Linked DNA regions of Homo sapiens: region 2 is linked to region 1. The links are contacts of gene promoters, found by promoter capture Hi-C in human tissues and cell types (Jung and others, 2019). All regions are on one chromosome and are shown on one strand. The core of a region is centred on a gene start or on the middle of the fragment in contact, and the rest is flanking DNA. Distances in the headings are between cores, read along the strand shown. Region 1 holds the start of HKDC1 (hexokinase domain containing 1). Region 2 overlaps HK1 (hexokinase 1).

What was found. The method cuts DNA at HindIII sites, captures the fragments that hold promoters and counts their contacts. A contact is called where the count stands out against the background at its distance.
Region 2: a contact is called between a fragment that was not itself captured here and the fragment with the promoter of HKDC1 in region 1, in 4 of the 25 tissues and cell types used here (heart right ventricle, mesendoderm cells, stomach and 1 more).

Annotation. Positions count from the first base shown.
Region 1 is chr10:69,216,849-69,222,000 of GRCh38, forward strand. It overlaps HKDC1 (hexokinase domain containing 1), which reads left to right and starts at 3,484. Exons shown (of 18, transcript NM_025130.4): 1 at 3,484-3,650. The coding sequence starts at 3,588. The region is part of intron 4 of LOC101928994 (a long non-coding RNA gene); the gene reads right to left. RefSeq lists an enhancer at 1,341-1,510. The HindIII fragment of the contact is 7,476 bases long and covers 1-5,152 here.
Region 2 is chr10:69,349,394-69,354,504 of GRCh38, forward strand. All of the region lies in intron 2 of HK1 (hexokinase 1), which reads left to right. Among named protein-coding and RNA genes, the nearest start is that of HK1, 33 kb to the left of the region's middle. The HindIII fragment of the contact is 8,896 bases long and covers 1-5,111 here.

The DNA of each region.
Region 1 (5,152 bases), core at 2,234-4,733:
TGCTAAATAAATAGGTAAATTTTGCTGGACTTCTAGTCCTCCCACCATACTCAGTACTTAAAGAGAAACAGAAATTATCTTTGAGCCTTGCCAAAACGGACCGTGTAGATTAAAGTGGAGCTCTATGAAACGGAGATGTGTCTACAGATGGGAGAGTTTCCCTTCTTACATGGAAGATTTGGGCCAGATGGGTGATACGCTTTAACTAAAATGTCACTTGTCAGTGTCGGCCCTCAAATGGGTGTTCTTAAGCAAAATCCAACTACTTATAAGATTTAAACCTAGATATCCTTGAATAGCCAATAGAACTGTAGTAAGGGTGAAAAATCCCAAGACTTGAATTGGAGTAATCAGATGAGGAATGATAAAATAACCTAATTATTTTGTCTTGATTCTATAAAGTGAGAGGGCTGAGCTAGATGACTCCAAATGCATGTGATCTCTGTAATCATTAAACTTCCTGGTTTAGTCACCTTACTCAGGCCTGGAATGTAGACGCTAATGTGCTCAGATTAAAAAGGGAATGATGCAATAGATGAAAATCCTCTGGTGTCATTTGCCTGATTAAAATTCCAAAGGCTGCCTATCTGACTCACACAAGCAACCGTGAGATTACAGAGATCTTTGGTTATGGTTTGCATCTTTTGACCACTGGCTACTGTAACCTCTTATCCCTATGTCGAACAAATCAATGACAGTTGGTTCATACTGCACTGCCCAGGTTACATTTTTTTTTTTTTTTGAAATGGAGTCTCACTCTGTTGCCCAGGCTGGAGTGCAGTGGTGCAATATTGGCTCACTGCAACCTCCACCTCCTGGGTTTAAACAGTTCTCCTACCTCTGTCTCCTGAGTAGCTGGGATTGCAGGCACCCGCCACCATGCCCAGGTAATTTTTGCATTTTTAGTAGAGACAGGGTTTCACCATGTTGGCAAGGCTGGTCTCGAACTCCTGACCTCAGGCAATCTGCCCACCTCCCACCTCAGCCTCCCAAAGTGCTGGGATTACAGGTGTGAGCCACTGCGCCCAGCCCAGGTTACTTTTTAAATGGGGGAATTAAATGCTGGGTGTGGTGATGCAAGCCTGTAGTCCTAGCTACTCAGGAGGCTGAAGCCAGAGGATCACTTGAGCCCAGGAGTTCGAATCCAGCCTGGGCAAGACTGGATGGAGTTCAAATCCAGCCTGGGCAAGACAAGATGTAGTGAGACTCTGTTTCTGAAATAAATCAACTAGTGGGGGAATTAGGATAAATAATGTCATCACTTACGGGCAGATGGCCTTCCCAGGATGTTATCCTCAGCCAATGGGGGCTAGGGCCTAGGATGCGCATTTCAGAATACCAACAATTCCACCTGGTTTGGGGCACTGAATGGTTTGGGGAACTAAAGGTTCATCTTTGTTTGCTTGTGTAATAAAGGAGCAAGCTAAAAGTCATAGTCTGAGGGTAAATTGACTGAAAAGGATGGGGATCCTCAATCTGGGAGACAGTTTTAATATGCTTATATCAATCTGAATAAAGCATCTGGAGTAATTTTAACCGAGCCTCCTCTGCATTGTGGGCTTAAGTGAGACCTGATGGCTCGTCCACACGGCAATGGGTAGAGAGCACTGAATTCCAGCTACTCAGGAGGCTGAGGCAGGAGAATTGCTTTAACCCAGGAGGTGGAGGTTGCAGTGAGTTGAGATTGAGCCACTGTACTCCAGCCTGGGCAACAGAGTGAGACTCTGTCTCAAAAAAAAGAAAAAGAAAAACAAATTCTTAACATCCCAACAGAATGCTGCTACTAATAGTTATCAATTGCGTATCTATTGAGTATCTATTGCGTGGAGAAAGCAGGGCTGGAGAGCCAATGCCATGTATTATAGCTGGGCCCTGGAATCAAACTTCCAGGATTGACCCCTTGCTGTCCTGTTTATGGCTTTGTGATCACGTAACCTTTCTGGGCCTCAATTTTTTCATCTATAAAATAAGAGTGGGCCGGGAGCAGTGGCTCATGCCTGTAATTCCAACACTTTGGGAGGCTGAGGTGGGTAAATCGCTTGAGCCCAGGAATTCAAGACCAGCCAGGGCAACATGGCAAAACCCTATCTCTACAAAAATACAAAAATTAGCTGGGCATGGTGCCACGTGCCTGTAGCCCCAGCTACCCTGGGGATTGAGATGGGAGGATCACCTGAGCCCAGAAGGCTGATGTTGCAGCGAGTCATGATTCCACGACTGCATTCCAGCCTGGGGGATGAATGAGACCCTGTCTAAAAAATAATAATAACAAGAGTAATAAAAACAAAATGGGATTGGTAAATGCTCCATCCATGTTAGCCGCTGTTGTTAACGCTGTTGTTATTGGTTTCATTAGCCAGCCAGTGACTGTGGGAAGAGTGCAAGGTTGATTGTACCCATGTATTGGGTGCTTTCTGGGTCCTTCTCATGTCAAGTATGATGAGTGAGAAGTGAGTGAATAAAACATCTCAGTGGCCTGAGACATTTCTCTTTTTTTTCTTTTTTTGAGATGGAGTTTTGCTCTTGTCACCCAGGCTGGAGTGCAATGGCGCGATCTCGGCTCACTGCAACCTCTGCCTCCCAGGTTCAAGTGATTCTCCTGCCTCAGCCTCCCAAGTAGCTGGGATTACAGGCACCTGCCACCACTCCTGGCTAAGTTTTTTGTATTTTTAGTAGAGATGGGGTTTCACCATGTTGGCCAGGCTGGTCTCGAACTCCTGACCTCATGATCTGCCTGCCTCGGCCTCCCCAAGTGCTGCGATTGTTACAGGCGTGAGTCACTGCACCCGGCTGGACTGAGACATTTCTTATCTGTGACTTCCTTCTCTCCAGCAGTGATTCCCAGTGAGCACTGGTGACTTCAGTTCACTCTTTCTCAGGAATATTTTTTCCTGGGTCACTACCTGTGAACTAAAGATTTTCTGGCTTAACACTGTGAATAGGTAAACATTTATTGATCATTTTCTGTTAACCATGGGCTATTAGTTAAGAGATCTGATCTGTCACAAATGGAAGAATCTGCCCCAACATTCTTGAAATCCCATTGACCAGGACAATGTTTAGTTTTAGTTAGTTCAGTGCTTCTGAGGAGCAGGGGGTCACAGAGTTATGCCACTGGCATAAAAAACTAAAGAGAAAAGCCTGGGACTGGAAATTTGCAGAGCAGCTCCACCGGTTGAAAGTTGGCTTTGTTTAGTGCCCAACTTCGCAGAAGATTTTCCTCGGCTGAGTGGGCTTGGCAGAGCCCCGGCTTGAGAGGGTTGCTTAGCAATGAGATTTGGTGGCACCCAATTCTCAAGTAGTCAAGCAACCCATCAATACCCTGCTTCCCCCTCCACTAAACCTCAGCTACCATCCAGAGCCTCCTATTAGACAATCAAGTGTGTGCCAGAGGGAGGGACCAAAGGGGTGGGGTGGGGGGGAGTTTAATCATTGAACCAAGCAGGCTGGAGGTATTTAGTCCGCAACACCTCGCTCCCCAGGAGGTCTGCCAGCCTGGACTGGAAGCGTGCAACACTCCAGAGTCGTAGGAGTGAACACTGCACAGGAATCTCTGCCCATCTCAGGAGAAACCAAACTTGGGGAAAATGTTTGCGGTCCACTTGATGGCATTTTACTTCAGCAAGCTGAAGGAGGACCAGATCAAGAAGGTAAGGAGGACCCACGAAGCTGAGAGATGCCCAGCTCCTTCTTCACGGACAAAACTGATTCCCTTAAAAAAAAAATCAGAAGGGAGTGAAGAGAGCTTATTAGAAAAGATACTGGGAGCATATGACCAGTAAAAGACTCACTGAGGGAAGAGGGAGTAATTCTCCCACACTCCTGGGCATTGCATTACTGTCCTGAACCTTACACTTCACTCGGAACTTCCTGGCAGGTATTGGATGCGGAAGCGGGTGAGGAGGGTGTTTGGAAAGCTTGAAGAGGATTGTGTTTGCTGTAAGGGATGTTTGCTCGGAAAGGCCACAAAGGCGAGGAGAATCATTTTCAAAGAAGTTTTAAGAACTGTTGGAGCAGAAGGCTGGGCGCAGTGGCTCACGCCTGTAATCCTAGCACTTTAGGAGGCCGAGGTGGGCGGATTACCTGAGGTCAGGAGTTCGAGACCAGCCTGGCCAACATGGTGAAACCCCGTCTCAACTAAAAATACAAAAATTAGCTGGGTGTGGTGGCGGGCACCTGTAATCCCATCTACTCGGGAGGCTGAGGCAGGAGAATCGCTTGAACCCAGGTGGTGGAGGTTGCAGTGAGCCGAGATCGCGCCATTGCACTCCAGCCTAGGGGACAAGAGTGAGACTTCATCTAAAAAAAAAGAACTGTTGGGGCAGATCTGTTTGTTCATGTATTTGAAAGCATATAAATGTGGGCAGCAAGAAGGTGTGAGTTGCAATAGACAGTAATTGAAATATCTATTATTGGCACCTGCTATTTGCCAATGGTACACTATTCATGGTGTGCATTATTTTGTCACTTTGCTCAGGGAACTTGTCTACAAAATTCATTCCAAAGTGGGCTGGTTAAAGGTTGCCAAGGGTCAACAGGAGGGAACCAGGGTTCTTTCCAGGCAGCTAAAATGAGCCCAGTCTGCTACTCTGGCCACACCGGCTGGCTGTCACGGCCCTGGGCAAAAAGCATCTCTCAAAGTGCAGATGACAGAAGTCCTCCTAGCAGGAGGACTTAGCCAAGGTCACCAAGTATTTAGGATGGAATGAGGATTAAATCCAAGTTGGCTGACTCTTCCTTCAATGCTTTCTGCTGTGCCATGACTCCCTCCTGCTTTACAAAATGAATAAGGAGGCCAGGCACCGTGGCTCACGGCTGTAATCTGCATACACTGGGAGGCTGAGATGAGCAGATCTCATCTCAAACTTGAGGTCAGGAGTTTGAGACCAGCCTGGGCAACATGGAGCAACCCCATCTCTACAAAACATGTAAAAATTAGCCGGTCATGGTGGTGTGTGCCTACAGTCCCAACTACTCGGGAGGCTGCGGTGGCAGGATGGCTTGAGCCCGGGAGACTGCGCTACTGCACTCCAGCCTGGGTGACAGAGTGAGACCCTGTCTGAAAAAAAAAGGAAAGAAAAGAAAAAAAAAGGCCAAGGATGGTGGCTCATACCTATAATCCCAGCACTTTGGGAGGCCAAGGTGGGTGGAT
Region 2 (5,111 bases), core at 66-2,565, 130 kb after region 1:
GTCATCGTCATCCTCATCAGTCTTATGATATAATAACTGGCTTTGGAAGAATTCCTTGGGAAAGTCTTTCCTAACCAATGGAGCCAGTCCAAGGACCGCACCCAGCAGGCCTGAATGTGTAAGCCGAGCCCCTGCAGGAAGGATGCAGAGTTTTTCAGGATTCGCTGGCATCTCTGTGATGTTACAGGGGAAGGAGGCAGAGAAAAGGGGCAAGCCAAGGCAGGCTGTCTCACCCCCAACCCCTGAGCTAGCCACATAAAATGTGGGTGAGACCACAGGCTACAGCTCCAGTACCTCTGCAAGGGGGTGACTGGACACGACAGCTCTGAATCAGGGAGCCAACCCGAGGTAAAAGGGACTGATAGGTCCCTTTTGTTATGGAGGGCAAGTGGGTATTTGGGGGATTCATTTCCTGACAAAGAATATTGAACTAACCTGGAAACCTTCTGGTTGTAGCTGAAGGAAATCTGACTCAAATTTGTTTAAGAAAAAAAGAGAATTCTAGTTTCCTATAACTGGGAAGTCTCGCTGTGAGTTGACTTCTGTATCTAGGGATTCATCTGTCTCTTACTAGTTCAGTCAGCTCCTTTCCTGTGTGTTGGCTTCATTCATAGGCCATCTCTCCTCTTACAGTGGCAGGGACGGCCCCTGCAGCCCTAGGCTGACCCCTCCCCTTATAGCCAGCGATCTCTGTGCAAAGAGCAGGCCTTGCTCCCCATGGACCTGTGATGGTCTTGGAGAGGGCTGTGATTGGCTTACTTGGGTTATGTGCCCATCCTGAACCAATCACGATGGACAAGATGGGTGACTTGGGATGCCCCTGGATCCCATGCCTGGATTACGCATTGGTACCCCTGGAGCTGGAGTGGGGATTCAGCCCCACTTCCAACCTCATAGGTGAAAAATGGGAGGGTAGTTATCTAAAGAGATGCTGGACATCCAGGAAAGTTTATCAGTTATCTTGTTGTCCTTAACAGACATCATTCCTCAGTGTCTTTTGCCCGGCAGCGTATAGGACCAGCACTTTGGGAGGCCGAGGTGGGCGGATCACAAGGTCAAGAGATCGAGACCATCCTGGCCAAAATGGTGAAACTCCGTCTCTACTAAAAAATACAAAAATTAGTTGGGCGTGGTGGTGCATGCCTGTAGACCCAGCTACTCGGGAGGCTGAGGCAGGAGAATTGCTTGAACCCGGGAGTTGGAGGTTGCAGTGAACCAAGATTGCGCCATTGCACTCCAGCCCGGGCAACAGTGTGAGACTCCATCTCAAAAAAACAAACAAACAAAAACATGAAATAAATAAATGTTTAGGTGAACATTAAAACAGCAAATTAATTAAGTAAAATATTAAAATAAAAAGTACCGATCATTTCATCTCAGTGTAGTATTTGCTTTTGTGCCCCTTTTCCCCCTATGCACAAGTGGTTTATAGTTGTTTATCAGACTGAGCTTTCACTGTCTTCATTAGAGAATGAAGCAAAATAAAACCAAAGCTGGCCGGGCGCCGTGGCTCACGCCTGTAATCCCAGCACTTTGGGAGGCCAAGGCAGGCGGATCACGAGGTCAGGAGATCGAGACCATCCTGGCTAACACAGTGAAACCCCGTCTCTACTAAAAAAAAAAAAAAAAAAATTAGCTGGGCGTGGTGGCGGGCTCCTGTAGTCCCAGCTACTTGGGAGGCTGAGGCAGGAGAATGATGTGAACCTGGGAGGTGGAGCTTGCAGTGAGCCAAGATCACGCCACTGCACTCCAGCCTGGGCGACAGAGCGAGACTCCGTCTCAAAATTAAATAAATAAATAAATAAATAAATAAATAAATAAAACCAAAGCTAGGCCAGGCACGGTGGCTCACGCCTATAATCCCAGCACTTTGGGAGGCCAGGGCAGTCGGATCATCTGAGGTCAGGAGTTTGAGACCAACCTGGCCAAGGTGGTGAAACCTCGTCTCTACTAAAAATACAAAAAATGAGCTGGGCGTGGTGGTGGGTGGCTGTAATCCCAGCTACTGGGGAGGCTGAGGCAAGAGAATCGCTTGAACCCCGGAGGCGGAGGTTGCAGTGAGCCGAGATCGCGCCATTGCCGTCCAGCCTGGGCAACAAGAGTGAGACTCCGTCTCAAAAACAAAAACAAAAACAAAAAAAACAAAACAAAAAAACCCAAAGCTATAAGGAATCATGGAAGTTGAAGAGCCCCAGAAAAGAAGTGTAGCCATTCCTGATGTGCTGAAGTCTCTCTCTGGCCCCCACTTTCCTTGGGGATCCTTGTCCCTGAGTTCTGTCCAGGAGGCAGTTTTCATGGTTATACATTATGGCTTCGGATTCAAATGCTGACTCTGCCACTTACTGGTTGTGCGTTTGGGCAAGTTATCTAACCCCTCTTTACCTTTACTTGCTCATCTGTAGAATGGGCATCCTGACAGTACTGACTTCATAGGGTTGTGAAGATTGAAAATAAAAGGATACGTATAAGCACTTAGTGATTGGTACAGAAAGACTCAGTGAATGTTAGCTGATGGATGGTCAAATAAAATGTTTCTGATATTCTAGTGACTCACCTGCGAGGAGCTACTTCATACTGAATTCAATTTTTTCAGTTATTTCAATTTTTTTTTTTTTTTGAGACAGAGTCTTGCTCTGTTGCCCAGGCTGGAGTGCAGTGGCATGATCTCGGCTCACTACAACCTCCGCCTCCTGGGTTCAAGCGATTCTCCTGCCTCAGCCTCCTGAGTAGCTGGGATTACAGGCACCTACCACTACACCCAGCTAATTTTTGTATTTTTAGTAGAGACAGGGTTTCTCCATGTTGGCCAGGCTGGTCTCGAACTCCTGACCTCAAGTGATCCACCCGCCTCAGCCTCCCAAAGTTCTGGGATTACAAGCATGAGCCACTGCGCCCGGCTGAATTCAATTTTTTAACCTAGTGGTGGTGTAAAGTACTGTTGGAGTTAGGACTCCAATGGGAGCCCAAAGAAAATTCTATATTGATTTGAACAATGCCACAAAGTCGGGGTCAGAATTTCCACCAAATCTATGACACCTGCTTCCCAGCATTCTCCCTTGTTCTCTCTCTTTCCTTTGGACCACAAATAATTTAAAACCAGTGGCTTCATGTGATATATACATATAATGGAATATAATCGGTTCATAAAAAGGAATGAGGTACTGATCCACGCTACAGCATGGATGAGCCTTGAAAACCTTATGCCGGGTGAAAGAAGCCAGACACAAAGGACCTAATATTATACAATTCCACTTATATGAAATGTCTGGAATAGGGGCATCTGTAGAGCAGAAAGTACATTAGTGGTTGCTGGGAGATAGGGAGGTTGGGAGGAAATGGTGAATGGTTGTTAATGGGTATGGAATTTCTTTTGGGATGATGAAAATTTTCTAAAATTAGATAGTGGTGATGGTTGCACAACTCTGTAAATATGCTGAAAACCACTGAATTTTTCACTTTAAAATGGGTAAAAATTGTATGCTATATTATTATATCTCAATAAAACTGTTATTAAAAAAACAACCAACCAATATGTGAAATAATAAGAAATATACATGTTGGTCTCTGCCCCTAGTCTCTAGCATTTAGCTTCTAAAACCCTTGTAATTTCTTGAGCAATACAGGTGCTAGGAGAATCTTTGATCCTGGTCCTGACTCAGAGCTCCTAAATCCCTTGGAATTTCTTGGGTGATAGGAGAGTCTCTTTTGTTCCTTGGTGGGACCCTGGATAGCCTCAGGATGGGGGGCTGGTTGCCAGGGGGAACCAACCATGTGATCAGAGGGTTGCTGTCAGCCCCAACCCCCATGCCGCCTCCAGGGAGGGAGAGAGCCTGAAAATAGAGCGAATAAACCAATGGTCGATGATTTAATCAATCGCAACTGTGTAATGGTGCTTCCACAAAAACCTAAAACAGGCCAGGTATGATGGCTCACGCCTGTAATCCCAGCATTTTGGGAGGCCCAGGTGGGTGGATCGCTTGAGCCTAAGAGTTTGAGACTAGCTTGGGCAACATGGTAAAACCCTGTCACTACACAAAATACAAAAAAAAGTTAGCCAGATGTGGTGGCACGTGCCGGTAGTTCCAGCTACTCGGGAGGTTGAGGTGGGAGGATCGCTTGGGCTCTGGAGGTTGAGGCTGCAGTAAGCTGTGATCATGCAACTGCACTGCACTCCAGCCTGGGTGACAGAGTGTGACCCTGACTCAAAGAACAAACAAACAAAACCAAAAAAAAAAAAAAAAAGCAAAAAGAAGAAAACCTAGAATGACTGAGTTCTGGTAGCTTCTGTCTAGCTGAACACATGGAGGTTCCTGGGTGGCACATCTGGAGGGGGCATGGAAACTCCTGCCCTTTCTCCCATGCCCCTCCCTGTGTATCTCTTCCATCCAGTTCTTCATCTGTATTTATTGTAATATCCTTTATAGTAAATATGTAAATGTAAGTGAAGTGTTTTTTCTGGGTCTGTGAGCTGCCGTAGCAAACTAATGCAACCCAAGGAGGGGGTTGTAGGAACCCCGATTTATAGTGATCAGCCAGAAGCACAGGCCACAACCTGTGCTTGTGACTGGTGTCTGAAGTTGGAGGGAGGGCAGCCTCGTGTGAACGAGCCCTCGACCTGTGGGATATGATGCTATCTCCAGGTAGCTAGTGAAATAATTGAATTGAATTAGAGAGCATGGAGCTGGTGTTCACTGGAGAATTCACTGCAGAATTACTTGCTTGGTGTGTGGGGAAAAACCCACATGCATCCAGGGTCACAGGTGTGTTCTGTGTTGTGGTGAGTAGAGAAAAGGAAAAACATACTCTGGTTTTTCCTCTGTGTGTGTCTCACATGATGGCGTAACTGCTTTGTGCTTAATAAACAGCAAGCAGGGGTGCTGTATTAGTCCGTTTTCATACTGTTAAAAAGAACTGCCTAAGACTGGGTAATTTATAAAGGAAAGAAGTTTAGTTGACTCACAGTTCAGCATGGCTGGGGAGGCCTCAGGAAACTTACAATCATGGTGGAAGGAGAAAAGGCATCTTCCTCACAAAGCGGCAGGAAGGAGAAGTGCTGAGCGAAGGGGGAAGAGCTCCTTATAAAACCATAAGGTCTCATGAGAACCCACTCA